Linked DNA regions of Homo sapiens: all the other regions are linked to region 1. Evidence: promoter capture Hi-C in 16 types of primary human blood cells and fetal thymus (Javierre and others, 2016). All regions are on one chromosome and are shown on one strand. The core of a region is centred on a gene start or on the middle of the fragment in contact, and the rest is flanking DNA. Distances in the headings are between cores, read along the strand shown. Region 1 holds the start of LRRC20 (leucine rich repeat containing 20). Region 2 overlaps PPA1 (inorganic pyrophosphatase 1). Region 3 overlaps AIFM2 (AIF family member 2). Region 4 overlaps PALD1 (phosphatase domain containing paladin 1).

The links. Contacts are between HindIII fragments. The CHiCAGO score rates a contact against its expected background, and 5 or more counts as called.
Region 2: a contact is called between a fragment that was not itself captured here and the fragment with the promoter of LRRC20 in region 1, in 9 of 17 cell types (total CD8 T cells, neutrophils, monocytes and 6 more). The highest score is 7.4, in total CD8 T cells.
Region 3: a contact is called between a fragment that was not itself captured here and the fragment with the promoter of LRRC20 in region 1, in 1 of 17 cell types (activated CD4 T cells). The highest score is 5.9, in activated CD4 T cells.
Region 4: a contact is called between a fragment that was not itself captured here and the fragment with the promoter of LRRC20 in region 1, in 1 of 17 cell types (M2 macrophages). The highest score is 5.9, in M2 macrophages.

Annotation. Positions count from the first base shown.
Region 1 is chr10:70,380,501-70,385,235 of GRCh38, forward strand. LRRC20 (leucine rich repeat containing 20) reads right to left here and starts at 2,125. Exons shown (of 5, transcript NM_001278212.2): 1 at 2,049-2,125. RefSeq lists enhancers at 1,336-1,955, 1,800-1,999, 2,530-2,629 and a silencer at 2,030-2,399. The HindIII fragment of the contact is 9,077 bases long and covers 369-4,735 here.
Region 2 is chr10:70,210,907-70,215,185 of GRCh38, forward strand. PPA1 (inorganic pyrophosphatase 1) reads right to left here. Exons shown (of 11, transcript NM_021129.4): 5 at 3,594-3,680; 6 at 2,557-2,683. Among named protein-coding and RNA genes, the nearest start is that of PPA1, 20 kb to the right of the region's middle. The HindIII fragment of the contact is 4,068 bases long and covers 1-3,887 here.
Region 3 is chr10:70,126,010-70,130,260 of GRCh38, forward strand. The region is part of intron 1 of AIFM2 (AIF family member 2); the gene reads right to left. Among named protein-coding and RNA genes, the nearest start is that of AIFM2, 4.7 kb to the right of the region's middle. The HindIII fragment of the contact is 3,881 bases long and covers 1-3,676 here.
Region 4 is chr10:70,543,383-70,547,976 of GRCh38, forward strand. It overlaps PALD1 (phosphatase domain containing paladin 1), which reads left to right. Exons shown (of 20, transcript NM_014431.3): 18 at 3,924-4,064. Among named protein-coding and RNA genes, the nearest start is that of PRF1, 57 kb to the right of the region's middle. The HindIII fragment of the contact is 5,823 bases long and covers 86-4,594 here.

The sequences.
Region 1 (4,735 bases), core at 875-3,374:
AGTCACAGAGTGTTCCAAAAGGCAGAAACAGACACCATCAGCCCACATGGGCCAGATCGCCGCTTGGGGCACCCCAGCCAGCTGGCACTACTGGCCCCAGCCAGTCCCAGGCAATAGAGGGTAGGCCTTAGAAAATGTCAGGGAAAGCACTCCAAATCCCAGAGACACTTCAGCACAGGGTCGAAGCTCATACTCACACTGCCTACATCCTCAAAGCATGGCCCTCTCCACACACCCTCAACCCCATTCCTCAGAGTGAGCATCCTGGTCCGGTGAAATGTTTAAATCCAGCAAACGTCTCCTGGACACCTTCCATAAGGCCCCCACTGTGGGAGTAAAGGGGCAGAGACTGGGTATGGGCTAGAACAAGCTTCCCACTGGGAGGCAGGATGAGCCTGATAGTAGTAAGGCTACAGGGCCAGGCCTAGGGGGGCATGAAGGCACATGGCATGGCCAGGGGGAAGGGACAGGGGTGAGCAGCAGGTGCACAAAGAGATTCAGGAGAGAGAGAGACAGGGAGCCAATGGGCTCCCAGATTACTGAGGAAGGGAACTGCAGCCCTCTTACAAGGCTGTCCTCTGCTTCTGTGTAGCGAACTAAGAGAAGTTTTTTGAGGAAGGCAGCCTAATCCATAGTTTTGCAAAGTTAACAGTGTTGTGAGCAGTCCCATTTGTAAAATGGAAATACCACCTTCCTCACCGGATTATTGTGGGAAGTAACTGATATGTAACTTTTGGGAAAGGACTTTGCGAACCATTACATGTTTCCCACACCAAGGCATTACCAGTAGGTAATCAAACAGGTGTAGAGAGGAAGTTTGGATGTAATAAATTCAATGCCAGACAAAAACGTTGTCCTGCTTTGGGGGAGCTGGCAATACAGCCCTCCTGTCCCTATAACCTGGTTTCACCTGGACTCAGGCTGGCTGGGGGAGGGGTGATTTTTGCTTAAACCCTGACCTGGCCCCCTGACTCCAGCCCTTACCATCAATAACTCTACCTTATCTGCAGTCCGGAGACCTCTGCAAAGGAGCCGCTGCGACAGCCCGTCCCCACCATCTGCTCCTATATTTAGTTACTGGTGTTGTCAGTTGGGAACGTTAGAGCCTGGCAGGGGCTCGGATGGGCAACCGGAGCCTCCGGAGCCATGTGTGCAAGCTGGCCCTACCGCTGGCTCCAGCCCGGGCTCTGGACCATGCCAAGCCGGGGAGCGGGTGGGGAGGTGAGGAGCGACCCAAATAGTCCCAAACCCCCCTTCAGATCAGAACGAAGTTGACCCACTTCCCCACCCCAGGGAAAGAAGCCCGCTGGGACGTGAGCGGGACCTGCTGGCGCCTTGTTTTTGTGGCATGGGGTTCGGGAAGCTCAGCGCGTGCTCCCTCGCTAACATCTAGGCATCCTCGGACTGAGCCTCCAGCACTACGCGCGGTAGCCAGGCAAGGGTCCCCCAGCCCCGCGTGCCAGGATCCGCCTCACCCCCGGTGCCTGCAGCCAATGGCACCTCGTCCGCTGGCCCGGCAGGCGGGGACTGGGAGAATAAAGCTGGCAGAGGGAAGAATGGTAGTGATCGCAGAGGCCCCGGGGCTCCCACGCTGCCCGGAGGCCGAGAGGCACGCTCTGGAGCAGGCGTCTGCAGCTCCCCAGAGCGGAAGCAAACCCCGAAAGTGTCGCTTCGGGGACGAAATGCACAGCAGCCTCTCCAAGCAAGGGCGCCTCCCGCGAGGAATGGAGGCCCGCCTGGGAGCGGTTCTCCGAGCTCCCTATTCCCTGGCACCTCTGCACCCACTCCCCTGAACCATCGGGGTCCAGGTGCAGTGAGCAAGCAAGAGCCCGCGCATGCCGAGCCCCTTGGCACCGCCAGAGCCTCCGCTGGTGCACCGCTGCTCTTTTCCACCGGGTGACCTGGGGGAGGGGAGGGGACGCTGCAAAAATCGGAACACTTCTCGCCCTCTCTCCCCCAGCCCCTGCAACGCTTGACCTCGGACTACATTTACTTTGCGGGGCAAGAAGCGTGTGGTCCCGCTCCGGGCCGCTTTTGGCTCCACTTACGGCGACAATGCCTCCTAGCGCCCTGCGCAGCGCAGTCACGCTCCCTCCGCCGCCGGCGGCGCCCCAGGCGAGTTCCGAGCCGGCGGGGCGGGGCGCGCGGGGCTGCGGGATCTGCGCGCGCGGCCACTCCGCCAATCCCGGCGCCAGGACCGGCGCCGCGGCGGGAGCAGGCTGGGCTCGGGATGCGCTCAGCCAATCAGTGGGGGAGCGGCGCGCGCGGGGGTGGCGCGCGGAAGGGCAGCCCGCGCGCTCCCGGCCGCAGGGAGTAACCGCTTTGTGTGCTGCTTCTAGAGGGAGAACGCCTGAGGGGGCGGAGATACAGAGTGGGACGCGCAGTACATCCCAGGATCTCTAGGACCGGGGCTCCAGATTGGGTTTTCTCGAGGGAATGGAGTTGAATTAGCCAGATCAGGGATACTTTGAAACACGTGAACATGGAGCATAGGGAAATTTTCCTATGATGACTTCGGGTGCCCATTGAGGTTTTTAGTATATGCAAGGCCCTGTGTCTCGGCCCTGCGTCTCCAATCCTAATGTTCTCATCTATAAAATATGACTTGAGGGCGGGGCGCGGCGACTCACGCCTGTAATCCCAGCACTTTGGGAGGCCGAGGTAGACGGATCACCTGAGGTCGGGAGTTCGAGACCAGCCTGGCCAACATGGCAAAACCCCCGTCTCTACTAAAAATACAAAAATTAGCCGGGCGTGGTGGCAGGCGCCTGTAGCCGCAGCTACTCGGGATGCTGAGGCAGGAGAATCGCTTGAACCCGGGAGGCGGAGGTTGCAGTGAGCCGAGATGGGCACTCCAACCTGAGTGGACAGAGTGAGACTCTGTCTCAAAGAAAAAAAAAAGAATATTTAATTCCGCCTCTAGGGGGTCTAGGCAGTCAAAGAACACACATTCCCTTGGGCCTCGATGGATGTTAAGGGTTACTTATGCCCTCTCCACCCCCAACAATATGTTAAAGTTCATCAGAATGTGATCTTATTTGGAAGTAGGGCCGTTGCAGATGTAATGAGTTAAGGTCATGCTGGAGTAGGGCGGGCCCCTAATCCACTGAGACTGGTGTCGTTGTAAGAGAAGAGACACAGAAGAGACGCACAGGGAGAACCACCTGTGGTGATGGCGGCAGGGATCAGCTGATGCATTTCCAAGGCCAGGAGTGCCAAGCACTGCCAGCAGGGACCAGAAGCTAGGAACGGGCAGGGAATAATTCCTCCTTCAGAGCCTCCAAAAAGGAACTAACCCTCCAGACACCTTGATTTTGGACTTAATAGCTTCCAGAGCTGTAAGTGAATAAATTTCTGTTGCCACCCAGTTTATGTCCATTTGTTATAGCAGCCCTAGGAAAAAACTACAATAGGTTAGTAGGAATAAAGAGAAGAGGATGATAAATATCTCCAAAGTAAGTCTTTTGAAACTGATTGCTTAGTATATGCAAAGCCTTGTGTCTTGGGGTATACTGACATGAATCAGACACAGACCCTGCCCTCAAGGGGTTACCAGTCAAGTGGATACTTAAGCAGCCATGTTTTCTGACCCCTTGTGCCTTCCCAGGGAAAACTATGGAGATCTCTCTCAACCCATCAACACCACATCCCTGCCAGATATATAGCAAGTACCAGATATAAATAACTAATGGGTAGAGTCCCATTCTGCCCAAGCCGAGATGCTGCTTGCCACTGTGGACAAAGCAGGCATAGCTACTTCTGTTTTCACTGAAAACCAGCATGACACTTCTACCCAACTTTTACACGTGGATGTCTTCTCTCCTCTGCTAGTCCATACGCAGACTTGAGACAGCCAGTACAGTGTTTCTGTACCCATGGTAAGGGCTCAGTATATACTGCTGGCTGATGGCCCCAGCCTGGGGTTTCCAACATTCATACTTTCCCTCAGACAGTCCCCTGTCCCAGGCAGTTCATCCTGGACCCTCTAACTCCACAGAGACAAGATCCCTCCCTAGCTCAAATCCACCTCTTCTATTCCTACTGTTTTTGCTTCTCCAGAGCACTTAGTGCATTATACCCATTATTCTATCATCTCTGCACAAGTCTTTACTCCCGAGAGTCTGCCTGATTGCAAATACCAGAGCTTGACGCATGTTCAGTGCTTGTATCCATCAGTGTTTCCTGCATAATAAAACACCCCAAAACTTAGTTGTGGCTTAAAACAATAACTACTTATTTAGTTCATGATTTTATGGGTCAGTATTTGAGGCTGGGCTTAGCTGGGCAGTTCTTCTGGTCTCAGCTGGACTCCCTCATGCATCCGGGTTCATCGCCAGGCAGTCAGAAGGCTCTGCTTCTGGGAAGTGGCTAGCTGCCAACTGAGGCAAGTAGGTCGCATGTCTCTCATCTACTAACAGGCTAGCCTAATTTGTTCACATGGAGCTGCAGGGCTCCGAGAGCACGAGTGGAATGGTGCAAGGTCTCTCAAAGTCTAGGCTCAAAATCGGCACTAGTCCACTTCCACAGTTGTATCGACTAAACCAAATGGCAAGGCCAACCCAGGTTCGAGGGTGAAGAAATAGACTCCATCTCCTGATGGGAGAAGCAGCGAAGTCACATTGCAAAGAATATGAGTACAGGGATGAGCAGAGAGTTGGGGCTAATTTTGTAATCTGTCACAGGACTCCATAAGTATTCTTGGGCTGGGCTCTGTGGCTCACGCCTGTAATCCCAG
Region 2 (4,279 bases), core at 604-3,103, 170 kb before region 1:
AGGTGCCCACCACCATGCCTGGCTAATTTTTTTGTATTTTTAGTAGAGATGGGGTTTCGTGTTAGCTAGGACGGTCTCGATCTCCTGACCTCATGATTCGCCTGCCTCGGCCTCCCAAAGTGCTGGGATTACAGGCGTGAGCCACCGCGCCCGGCCGCTTCAATCCAATTTATAATCTGCATAAAGAATAGCATGCATTCTATTATCATAATATCACTAAAAGTATGGAAACTTTACAGAATGCACTGGGAAATGTTTAAGCACTAGTAAATTTCAAAGAACTTATAATTTACATGAAATGTGTCACCTGATATAGAAATAATTTGGAAATCCAGAAATCCAACATGCAAATGTTGATGTTTTCCAATAACAGAAACTAATTCTCCAATTATTCAGACACCAACTGAGTGCTCAGTAATTCACTGTGATTCTGATACTATCTACCTGGAGTTAGCATCAGATCTCAAAGGTTAGGGGCTCAGTCTCACAAGACTGCCCCACTTCAGATGCCTCCTGTACTTTTGACTATCAGCTATAAATTAGGGGTTTCTACAATCCTCTCCCCAGGTCCCCTAATTTGCTAAAATGGTTCACAGAACTCAGGAAAACACTGAAGTTTAAATTTCGTTATATAAATACAACTCAGGGACAGCAAATGGAAGAGATGCACAGGGGCAAGCTATAGGATGGACAATAGACACTGCCTTAGGTTGACATTAGGGAAAGCTGCATACTACTTGCGCCATGGGACCAGCCACCCCGAGAAAGTTTTCAGGGTTCTAATAACCTGAACTGCAGGAAAATAAAGCCTTAGTAAATGAGTGCTGACAGAGTGATGGGCTTGGCTTCACTAATTGTGGCCACAGCATGCCAAGTTCTCTTGCATAAGAAGCACGTTGGAAATGCACACACGGACCAACAGAACAGAGCCGTACTACCAAGTAGTGAACAGATGGTGTGAATGCACTCTCACCTTTCAAAATTGAAACGAAACATTAAAGGATTGGCATTCTTCCAGTCCTTCTTCAATGAATTAACACAGATGCAAATATACATCACATCATTTTGAGGGAACATGCTCTCAAGGTGACTCTTATCACTGCTGACATTGACCTCCATCACCTGGCTGAGGCAGTGTTTGTCAAGTTTCTCTGCTCTAAAGTCATCCTCTCCTCTCCCTTACCCACACTGTACTCTTTGGAAGGAAGTCACCAGGCACAACTCACAATTAAGGACCTCCTTGAGAATGGAGTATCTGCATAAATTATTTGGAATTCTTCTGCTTTGAGATTTGTCTATTCTTCCTCATTTGTCTATTTATTCAATCATTTATTTGTCAGTATAGACTCATGGAGATTTATTTTATGTTCCAGGTTATATTACAATACTACTTTATTTTCTTGCTCAAAGTGTTCTAGCTTTGGCAACTCCTATGTATGTACCCAATAATAAAAACATAAGTCCACACAAAAACTTGTACAGGAATGTTCATGGCAGCATTACACAGCCAAAACAACCCAAATGTCCATCAACTGATGAATGGATAAACAAAATGTAGTATATCCACACAATGGAATAATATTCAACCATAAAAAGGAGTACTGACAGATGCCACAATATGCAATATGGATAAACCTAGAAAACATTATACTAAGTGAAAGAAACCAGAAACAGCAACAACAAAGATCCATATATTGTACCAGTCCATGTATATGAGATACCTAGAATAGGTAGAATAGGCAAAGCTATAAAGACAAAAAGCAGATTAGTGGCTGCCAGGGCCTGGAGAGGAGGAGGGAATAGGGAATGACTTGAACTAGTGGTGATGGCTGCACAACCTTGTGAATGAATGAAATGCCACTGAATTTCACACTTTAATTAAAATGGTGAATTTTATGTTATGTAAAATTTACCACCAAAAAAAAAAAAAAAGGGAATGAAGTGCTGATACATACTACAATACGGATGAATCCTGAAGACACTTACTTCGCTAAGTGAAATAAACCAGACACAGAGGCCACCTATATGATGCCATTTACATGAAATAACAGCATAGGCAAATCCATAGGCACAAAGTAGATCTGCAGTCATCAGGGACTGAGGGAAGGGGGACAGGGAGTGATTGCCCATGGATACAGGATTTCCTCTGGGCTGATGAAATGTTCTGCAATTAGAGAGTGGTGATGGTTGTACAACTTAGTGAATATACTAAAAACCACTGAATTGTACATTTTACAATGGTGACTCTTTGATATGTGAATATCTCAATTAAATGTTTTAAAATAAATAAACATACCAACTGAGTGCTGGTATGTGGGGAAGGAAAGGACCAAAAAAACAGTAAGAACCTACCAGATTTTTTCTTTCCTGGAATGAAGGAGAAAGTTTACTTAGTTAATTACAAGTGCAGTCATAGAAATAATGCTTGTCCAGTGCTTTGTTCCTCCATCCTTTAACAGTTTGAAGGTAAGGGCTTACAATTCTGTCATTATAGGTTAAGTATGGTGGTGCTTATGAATTAATTAGAAAGACTTCAGACTTTTCAAATTTTCTTACCATTATAATTGGCTGCATCAGGATCATCCACATTAATGGCAATGACTTTCCAGTCGGTTTCCCCTTCGTCAATCATAGCCAATATGCCTAGAACTTTCACGCCAATTATTTCACCTCTTGCACATACCTGAGAGTCAATAGCCAAAGTCAGGACAACATTACAGAACCACACTCTAGAAGACAGTTTTACTTGGCTAACAGGAAATAAGAAAGAGGCCAAGTTCTTGAGAATTTACCTGAAGATTGTTCCTTTAAGCAAATTTTAAAAACCTAAATGAGTAAATGTTTCATCAGTCCTATTAAAGTTGAAAACAGGACTTATAGGTCCTATTTTCTTCTAGGTCATAGGGAAACCAGTACATAGCTCAGGGTAATCAATGTTTTTTGCACTGTCATTGATTATACTGAAGAATAAGTCCTCCATAGTCTCAAATACGTATCTTAATATGCTTTACCTTTTATTTTATAAAAGTCATGAGTTAAGCAAGTCATACGATGACTCAAAAACTTTATGACTTAAAAAACAAAATGATAACTTTGTTTTTAGTTGTTTACTATTTCTCTGCACCTGAGAGAGACATAAAGAAATAACTATAATCAGAATCTTAGAACAACCCTACTTGATGGAGGAGTTACTACCATGGATCTCCAACTCATGAGGTTATTTGGTTCGGGTCAATTTACTGATCATTCTAAATTGTTAGGCAAGATTTGCCATGTTTTGAGAGGGAATTTCCCTCCTGGTACCTTTCACCTATTGACTAATTATCCATCTTCTAAAGCAATGCAGAACATGTCCAGTTCTTCTAGATATATGTTCAATCATACATACATAGACACATTTTTTTCCAGACTAGATTTAAATGTAAAAATTATAATATACAAATGCTTAAAATGCAAGAAGCCTTTAATACCAAAGAGACATCATTATTTCACTAATATTCATGCATTTTATTCACAGTATTTTTTAAAGTATGAAATTTGGTATACTTCATTAATATCTCAACACTAAAGAAAAAAATGTCACATTTCATTACCTTGCTTCCAATTTCACACACATCAATTGGGTCATTGTCACCACAACAGCCAGTATGTTTATCATTGTGCCCTGGGTCTTCCCAAGTCTAAAAATATAAGACAGTGTATATCATTCCTATACATACTGACAAAATGGATCATGTTGAGAATAACAGATAACATCCTATGACTCTTCAGCTACTTTTTTCTCATTGTTTTAGTTCTTTATTCGCATTTAAGAATCTTAACTACACACAAGAGTTTCAATTAAATGCTGTAGCTCCTACTACACATCTAATGCTAAACTAAATTTAAGCTTTAAAACAGATAATGATCCTATTTAAAACAAGCAAAAGCCAACTACTCAATAACTGAGACAATAGGGAAACACAAATATAGACCCAAACGTTTACTTTAAAGATGTGTGGTTTTAGGCTGGGTATGATGGCTCATGCCTGTAATTCCAGCACTTTGGGAGGCTGAGGAGAGTGGATCACCTGAGGTCAGGAGTTTGAGACCAGCCTAGCCAACATGGTGAAACACTGTATCTACTAAAAATACAAAAATGAGCCAGGCGTGGTGGTGCATGCCTGTAATCCCAGCTACTTGGGAGGCTGAGGCAGGAGAATCGCTTGAACCCAGGAAGCAGAGGTTGCAGTGAGCCTAGATCATGCCACTGCACTCCAGCCTGGGCAACAGAGCAAGG
Region 3 (4,251 bases), core at 486-2,985, 250 kb before region 1:
CTGCCCCAGACAGAGGAGGGCCCAGGGGCTGGCCTGGGGCTGCACCAGAGGCCTTGCCTCCAGCCCAGCAGAACCCCAAATTAGGATGCTTGCAGTGTGGGCCTCAGGCAGGCAGAGGGCTGCTGGTGTGGGAGGAGCCGCACAGCCCATTGAGGGGCACTCTTGACTGCAGCTGAGACCCTGAGAGGTGACAAGCAATCAACCCTCCTCCTGGCCTGTGCTGAGCCCTAAAGAGAGGCAGAAATAAGCCAGGCTGCTGGGGGGAGATGCTGAGAAAAAGAAACAAAACTCACACTATACAGAAAGCAGCCCCAGAGGCTCAACAGCTGCTGTGGGCTTCAGGAAGGGGGACTGGAGCGGGTGTCAGCGAAGGAGGAAGTAGACTCTGAGGTCAACCTTGAAGGATAGACATCAAGCCACTGAACAGCCTCATAAGGAAGTGTGTTCCAGCTCATCTGGGACCCTCAGGCCGCTGGAAGGCCACTGCACTGCCCTGATCATCTTTGCGGGTCTGGGGCACAACCCCTTCCCTCTCTAGGCCTCAATTTACCCCCTATAATGGGAGGGGACTATAAGGCCCAACCAGCTATAATATCCTGAGCTGTCCTCGTACACACTGGTTTCCAAGACATGGTGGTGGTTCCCCAAGACGGTCCCCAAATCATCCCACACTTATGGGGCAGCTTTTGGTTAGAACTCCGGGCACTGTTCCCATTGGTGTTCAAATGCCCACTGCCTAACTTCTCCCCTGGGGGCGGACAGTAGAGCGGACGGAGGGCACTGACACAATGGATTGGAGGGAATTTAAAGTTGTTTCTCGTGGGTCAAATGGTCCCCAAAGCATTGAGGCTTGAACATACCCATTTCACAGATGAGGAGGCTGAGCCCTCGTAGAGATTAGGACCCAAGACAACCCCCCGGCAGGCAGGGCCACCCTGGCTCCTCTAAGCCCTCAGAAGGGTTGTCTAGAGCTAATCCCAAGCGTACCTCAGGCTGAATCTGCCAACTGGGCCAGAAGGGAATGTCTCCTAGGGACCAGGACCCAGGAGGGCCCACAGGCCCAGCCAGAGGTAGCAGTGCACACCAGGAGCTGCGCAGGGCCTGAGAATGTAGGCAGTGATGAGGCAGGCCGTGGGTGGCGTGTGTTTCACCAGCCCCTGGCAGCGTGCAACCCTCTGTGCTGGGTCTTACCCTTGGGGCTGTCAGCCAGGGATGAGGTCAAGAAAACACCCAGAAAGCCCCACTTCCAAGTTAGCTGGGCATGGCCCCTGAGAGGGGCTACGCAGCTGGCCGGGGATAGGGACAGGGGAGTCCACTGTGCGTCAGGTCACACTGGAGCACCCAGGGACACTCAAAAAGGACAGCCTAGAGCCCTGAAAAAGAGCTGAGATCAGGGGGCCTTCCTAGCAGAGGAAACAACTTGGGCCAGAGGCCCAGTGGCAGGAAGGGAGGAGGCAGGTAGAGTTCAGGGCACCTGTGGCAGAAGGTGGAGAGGCTTAGAGGACAGGTGACAGGGGCCGACAGACAGACAGCCTGCCATGCCAGGGCAGCTTTGACAATCAGGTGGACATACAAGCCTGCTCCGGGCCCTTCATGGGGTTTCCTCCAGGGAAAGAAAGTCTAGTGACCCCAGAGTGGACCTCAGGGGCAATGAGTTGACCAAAGGAGCCAAGCCCTTGACCCCCAGGCCCCTAGTATCATCAACCTGCTTCCCCGAAAGGGCAAACTCTTGCCTCACCCAAGGAAGGCAAATTGCTTATCTGGGGTTCCCTGTGAAGGGCCTGGGGCCTGAGGGGACACCCAGACCAGAGCAGGGCCAGGGAGGGGAGGCACTTTTCCTCTTCAGGCTGCCTGAGGCCTCTCCTGCAATCTGCTCTCTCTCTCTTCTCTCTCCTCTACTGACCCCTGCCACGCTTACTTGTGGAATAGGGAGGCCAGTGACTCTCCAGCAGATTTCACCCTGCCTCTTTGGCAGCCCCTTGCCCAATACTCTTGGACATGCCGACTCTCTTTGGCTCTGCCAGTGTCGGTTCTTGCCTGGCCCCAGAAAACAGTGAACTCCCCTCTGCTTGGCCATGATCTACTTGGCCAGACACCTAAAGCAAGGGCTTAAGCCATGGAGCTGCATTTCCAGCCACACACCCTGTAGGAGATGAAAATGCACGTATGGAATTAGTGGATGCCCAGTTGTATGTTCTAACATAGCAGTAGTGCTGTGCAAACCTCCACCTGTGTGACACTCCATCAATCAATGGAAACTGCCACCAATGAGAGGCTACAGGATAAAATATTATAAACCCATACAATGCAGTACTGTGTAGCCAGTTGTTTTTAAAGGGTGAGTGATGTTTTGTTTTGTTTTTGAGATGGAGTCTCACTCTATTGCACAGGCTGGAGTACAGTGGCTCAATTTCAGCTCACTGACTGCAACATCTGCCTCCTGAGTTCAAGCAATTCTCCTGCCTCAGCCTCCCAGGTAGCTGGAACTACAGGCATGTGCCATCATGCCCGGCTAATTGTTTTTTGTATTTTTAGTAGAGTCAGGGTTTCGCCGTGTCGGCCAGGCTGGTCTCGAACTCCTGACCTCAAGTGATCGGCCTGCCTCGACCTCCCAAAGTGCTGGGATTATAGGTGCGAGCCACTGTGCCCAGCCTGTGAATGACGTTTTTATACAAAAAGTCTGTCCATGAAAAAGTCAGGCAAGGGCTGGGTGTGGTGGCTCCTGCCTATAATCCTAGCACTTCAGGAGGCAAAGGCAGGAGGACTGCTTGAGCCCAGGAGTTTGAGGCTGCAGTGAGTAACTTTACCTTTGCTCCCTCCCACAACACACACACACAAAGACACACATACACAATCTGATTTACACAAAACATGTTTTCAAGGTTCATCCAAGTTGTAGCATGGATCAGTGCTTCATACCACTGCACTTCGGCCTGGGCAACAATGTGAGACCCTGTCTCAAAAGTAAAAAAAAGAAAAGAAAAAGTCAGGCAATATTTATTTATTTATTTACTTATTTTTAATTTTCTTAGGGACAGGGTCTTGCTCTATCACCCAGGCCAGAATGCAGTGGCATGATCATAACTCATTATAACCTTGAACTCCTGAGCTGGCTAATTTTTTTTTTTTTTTTTGTAGAGATGAGGGTCTCACTATGTTGCCTAGGCTGATCTTGAACTCCTAGCCCCTCAAGGGATCCTCCTGCCTTAGCCTCCCGAAGCACTGGAATTACAGGGGTAAGCCACTGTGATTTCGAGCTGTAGAAAAGATTCAATGAGATCATTTACGTAAAGCATTTTAGCATGGTGCCTGGCACAGAGTAGCAATGAATACACAGCAGCCACGTTTTATATATATATATATAAAATATATGTTGCAGATTAGTTTGCCCAGTCCCAAAAAGTCAGGCCACAGAACCACATGAAAGATCTAATCCCATTTATGGCCAATAAGACACATCCACCTCGGTATGTATACACATATACAGGTAATGATTACAGCAGTTAGCATCTGTTGCACTTTTGCCCATATCTTCGATTTAAGGTATGAGTTTTTTCTCCTTATTTTGGAAAAAAGTTCAACAACTTGCCCAAGTTCAATTCTCAACACATCAAACCTGCTGTCTGAACCAAAGTGCTAATAGTGGTCATAGATAATGTTTTCATTTTCTTCCTTAAGCTTTTGTATTGTTTGAATTTTTTTCAAACAAGCATATGTCATTTTTGCAGAAATAATGTCTTTAATAATAGGACAGACCGCTTACCATCTAATTTTTTAATCAAAATAGAATTCACATATACAATTTACCACTTAAGATGTAAGTTCACAGTGAGCTATGATTGCACCACTGCACTCCAGCCTAGATGAGACCCCATCTTTTAAAAAAAAAAAATGAGATGTAGGCTGACTCACACCTCTAATCCCAACACTTTGGGAGGCCAATGCAGGCAGATTGCTTGAGCTCCGGAGTTCCAGACCAGCCTGGGCAATATGGTGAAACCCCATCTCTACAAAAAATACAAAAATTAGCCAGGCATGGTGGCACATGCCTGTGGTCCCTGATATCAGGAGGCTGAGGTGGGAGGATCGCTTGAGCCTAGGAGGTCGAGGTTGCAGTGAGGCATGATCATGCCACTGCACTCTAGCCTGGGCGCCAGAGCAAGACTCTGTCTCAAAAAAAAATTTTTTTTAATTTAAATTTCAAAAAAAGATGTAAGTTCAGTGGGTTTTAGTGTATTCACCAGGTTGTGC
Region 4 (4,594 bases), core at 1,747-4,246, 160 kb after region 1:
TTGATGTAGTTTGTCTGTTTTTTCTTTTGTTGCCTGTGCCCTTGGTGCTATATCCAAGAAATCATTGCCAACTCCAATGTCATGAAGCTTCTCCCTTGTGTTTTATCCTAAGACTTTTATAGTTTTTAACTCTTAGGTTTAGGTCTTTGATCCATTTTGAGTTAGTTTTTTTTATATGGTGTGAGGTGAGGGTTATCTAAGTTTATTCTTTTGCATGTGGATATCTGGTTTTTCCAGCACCGTTAGTTCAAGAGTCTGTCTTTCCCCATTGAAGGGTCTTGGCACCCTTGTTGAAAGCCAGTTGACCATATGTATAAGGGTTTTATTTTCCAGCTGAGTTTAGTCTTTGCATCGGTGCCTTGAATGTGATGGTCAGGCCTCTCCTTCTTCACACCAGGCCCCGTGCTGGGAGCTGTGTGTACTCCCTCTGTCCCCTTTCCCAGCTCCCAGGAGGTAGGTGCTTTTACTGCTCCCAGTTTATAGATGAGAAAATGAGGCCTGGGGAGACAAGTTTATTACCCTAGGGCCACATCAGAGAGGTGGGGCTGGGGTATAAGCCAGGCTGTAGACCTCAGAGCCTGTGTTCCAAAGTTACATCATATGACCTGAAGACACCCCTGTACACCCTATCCTCACCCACCCCCAGATAATCTAGACCAGCTTCCTTTGCAATTAGTTCAGCATTTGCTGAGCCCACAGTCTGTTGGGGAGAAAGGATCAATAGAGCGTGAAGAGGCCCAGAGCAGACACTGGTTCTAAGGGCCAAGAGTGCAGCTGAGGGAGCCTGAGAGGACTTCATAGAGGAGGCAGCATTTGAGTGCCTTTGGGGAAGATGAGTGAGTATCCTTGGTGAGGAGGGGAGTGTCTGGAGGGATCAAGTGTGCAAAGGAGGGATTCTGGAAAGGGCAGGAACTATGTAAGGCTGTGATTTGTCAGAAGGGAAGCAGGCAGGACTGAGGGGTGGGGGCCCATATTGTGAAGGCCCTGGAGGTTTGCACTATGTGTTTGACCTTGACCGTGAGGCCAGGAGGGAGGCAGAGGAGGTTGTGATCAGGCTCTCAGTCTGGGGGCCCCAGCAGGCAGTTATATGTGGACTGGGGAGTGGAGGGAGAGGCAGGAGCTGAGTGAGGAGGGGCTGCAGGGTGAGCAGGAGCAGCCCAGTCCTCATTGGTAGGTCTTGAGGGCTCCTGGATGTGGGGTGAGGAGGGCACCTAGGATGACCTCGAGTTTCTGGCTTTGCAGTAGTGACAGCTGTCGATGTGGAATTCAGGGGAGGAACAGCTGCAGCAGAGGCCAGGAGTTGGGTTCCCTGTGAAGAGCTGCAGCCCTCTGTCTGAGGTGGCCCCCAGAGGACGCAGTTCCCTGCACCCTCCTGGGGACCTGCCTAGAGCTTGGGATTGGGGATGTGGACTGGACAGCTCCCTCCTACTCCCCTGGGCACAGCCTGAGCCAGATCTGCCACTAGTTCCTTCCAGACTGTTCCTTTTTCTCCTCCCACTTGGTTGCAACTCCATGCCTGCTGGGGTGCCCAGCACCAGGCCAGGACTCTGAGAAACGCAGGAGTTGGGGAAAGGCCCTTCCCTGTTCTTAAGTGGCAGCCAGAGAGAGAAGAGAGCGAGTTAGGTGTTCATTCATTCACTGGGCAGCTGATGCTGGGGCACCGGGCAGGTGCCAGGCACCACTCCAGGTGCCGGCAGAAAGCCCCTCACTTAGTGGGGAGCAGGTGTGAAAGTGGAAGCAGATGAGCAGGTGGCTGTCGACCACGGGACAGGGCGCTGTGGGGACCTTGCAGGGTGGTGGGGGTAGGTGGTGGGAGGGGTTATGGGTGATGCTGGAGAGGTAGGCTGGACCCAGTGGTGCGGGGAGCCTTTAGACCCCAGTTTCTGTGCTGAGTGTAAGAGAGCCATGAAGAGATCAAAGCCCGGGGATTATACAACATGGGTTCACATTTATACTTTCGTAAGACCTCTCTGGCCACCAGGGAGAGGGAGGGCGGGGAGGAGGTGGAGACGCTGGTCAGAAGGGTACTGCTGTGGAGGCAAAGGGGGATGGGGGTCTGGATCAGGTGCCAGCTGTAGAGAGGTGCAGTGTAGACAGATTTGGAGGGGAACTCAGCACAGGGTGGCTGGGAGGGCCTGTGGGGGAAAAGCCATAGAGTAACCTAAACAGGCTTCAGTTTTCCCAGCAGTAAGGGGCAGATTATATCATTTTTTTTCTTTTTTCTTTTTCTTATTACTCAGAGATGGGGTCTCACTATGTTGGCCAGGTTGGTCTTGAACTTCTGGCCTCAAGCGATCTCCCCACCTCGGCCTCCCAAAGTGCTGGGATTACAGGTATGAGCCACTGCACCTGGCTGGGGTGGGGAATTATATCAGATGAGTGGTGTCCAACTCTGAGCGTCTGCGCAGTGGCTGGGGGCTGCTGCAGGTTAGGAGGAGGGTGGGGAGGCTTCTTACACCCCCTCCTCACCCCTCCAGCCCTAGTACGTGACAGCTATCTGTTTTATAGATCAAAGTTCTGCATGAGGCCTCATTTGAAGCAGGATTTCTACTGCTTAAAAAATAAGCACCTCGACCAGGCGTGGTGGCTCATGCCTGTAATCCCAGCACTTTGGGAGACTTAGGCGGGTGGATCACCTGAGGCCAGGAGTTCAAGACCAGCCTGGCCAACATGGTGAAACCCTGTCTCTACTAAAAATACAAAAATTAGCTGGGTGCGGTGGCAGGTGCCTGTAATCCCAGCTACTCGGGAGGCTGAGGCGGGAGAATTTCTTGAACCTAAGAGGCAGAGGTTGCAGTGAGCCGAGATCTCACCACTACACTCCAGACTGGGTGACAGGGCGAGACTCCATCTCAAGCAAAACAAAACAAAACAAAACAAAAATAAGCACCTTAGATCAGCTTAACATTCCATGGGTGCATTGGGGTGGTTTTTGTATCATGTAATACAAAGCATACAAAATGGCAATTTGGAGTCACAGTCGTGCATTTAATATGTCTTGAACATCTTAAATGACTTATATTCCCATGGTTTTTTTTGTAGAATTATTTCTAATGTAAACCACTTCTTGATTGTGGCTCTCCTGTGAGAACTGTGTGCACTCTGTGATGTCTTTGGCTGTGGCAGTCCCGTTTTCCTAGTAACTCTATTGATGTGCTTGGACACTGAAAATCTGTGTAGTGTGCAAGACATTAAGTTGTGGATTGGTGGGGCTTATGCCACAGTTTATCAACACTTGAAAATACTGGTACTTAATATCTTCTTAAAGAACAATTTGCCTCCAAATTTTAAGCTGGAAAGTTAATGGAATAACTTTCCAGCACTTTGGGAGGCCAAGGGTGTGGATTGCTTTAGCCCAGGAGTTCGAGATTAGCCTGGGCAACATGCCAAAACCCCGTTTCTACTAAAAGTACAAGATATTAGCCAGGCGTGGTGGCATGGGCCTTTAGTCCCAGCAGCTCAGGAGGCTGGGGTAGGAGGATCACCTGAATCCAGGAAGTTGAGGCTTCAGTAAGCCCTGATCATGCCACTGCACTCCTGCCTGGATGACAGAGTGAGACTCTGTCTCCAAACAACAACAACAACAACAACAATAAATGTCAATGGAATAACTAAAAAGGAATCATAATCCATGCCTTTTTTAGATATTCGGTACAAATTCAATGTCTGTGTACTGATCCTCAACACAACCAATAAATCCCAATTGTGGAGGAAAAAGAAAAGCATCTGGGTAGCCTGGCCCCGGAGATGTTCAGGATCCCCCTGTCCTCCCTCAGTCTGAGAACTGAGGAGCAGGCAGGGCTCTCTGTTCAGCGCCTGGGCCTTAGGCCTGGTGTGGCCTTTTGGTGAGGGTGCAAGCCTGGTGCTTGGGCTGAGGGCTCTTACCAGTTTTATGTCTGCTCACCCCCCTTCTCTGGCCCCAGGTAGTAATGAAGGTGGTGCAGCTGCTACCCGATGGGCACCGTGTGAAGAAGGAGGTGGACGCAGCGCTGGACACTGTCAGCGAGACCATGACGCCCATGCACTACCACCTGCGGGAGATCATCATCTGCACCTACCGCCAGGTGAGCCCCCACCCCACCCCACCCCACCCTGCCCCAGCCACCCTTCCAGGTGTGCACAGCCAGGGAGTGGCTGATGTGGCTTTGGGGTTGCTAGGGGTCCTAGGGGCCCCTCCTTGGCTCGTGGTCACTTTTCCACCTTCTGGAAGTGGAAGTGATCCATGAGATGGACACATCCCCAGCCCCGACCCACTGGTATGGGTACCAGATTCTGGAGTGGTAGGGGAGATGCATGCAGGGGCCATGTTCAAAGCATTCAACAACTGCTGTGGCCCTAGGACCAATCAAGGATGTGGCCAATCAGAGTGAACACCCAGGAGCCCTGTGGTGCCAGGCGTTAACCCTCTTGTTTCTGGGTCCTGGCGGGGGGACCAGAGGTCCCAGACAGGAGTCAGGTAGTGGGTGGGTGGAGACCCTCAGGGTCTTGGGGTGGCTGTTTCACAACTAGCACGGAGGCTGTCATCTCAGGACGTGGGTATGTCTGTGCTGCCCTGGGGCTGGGGCTGGCTCCCAGATGGGGTGTTTTTTATCTG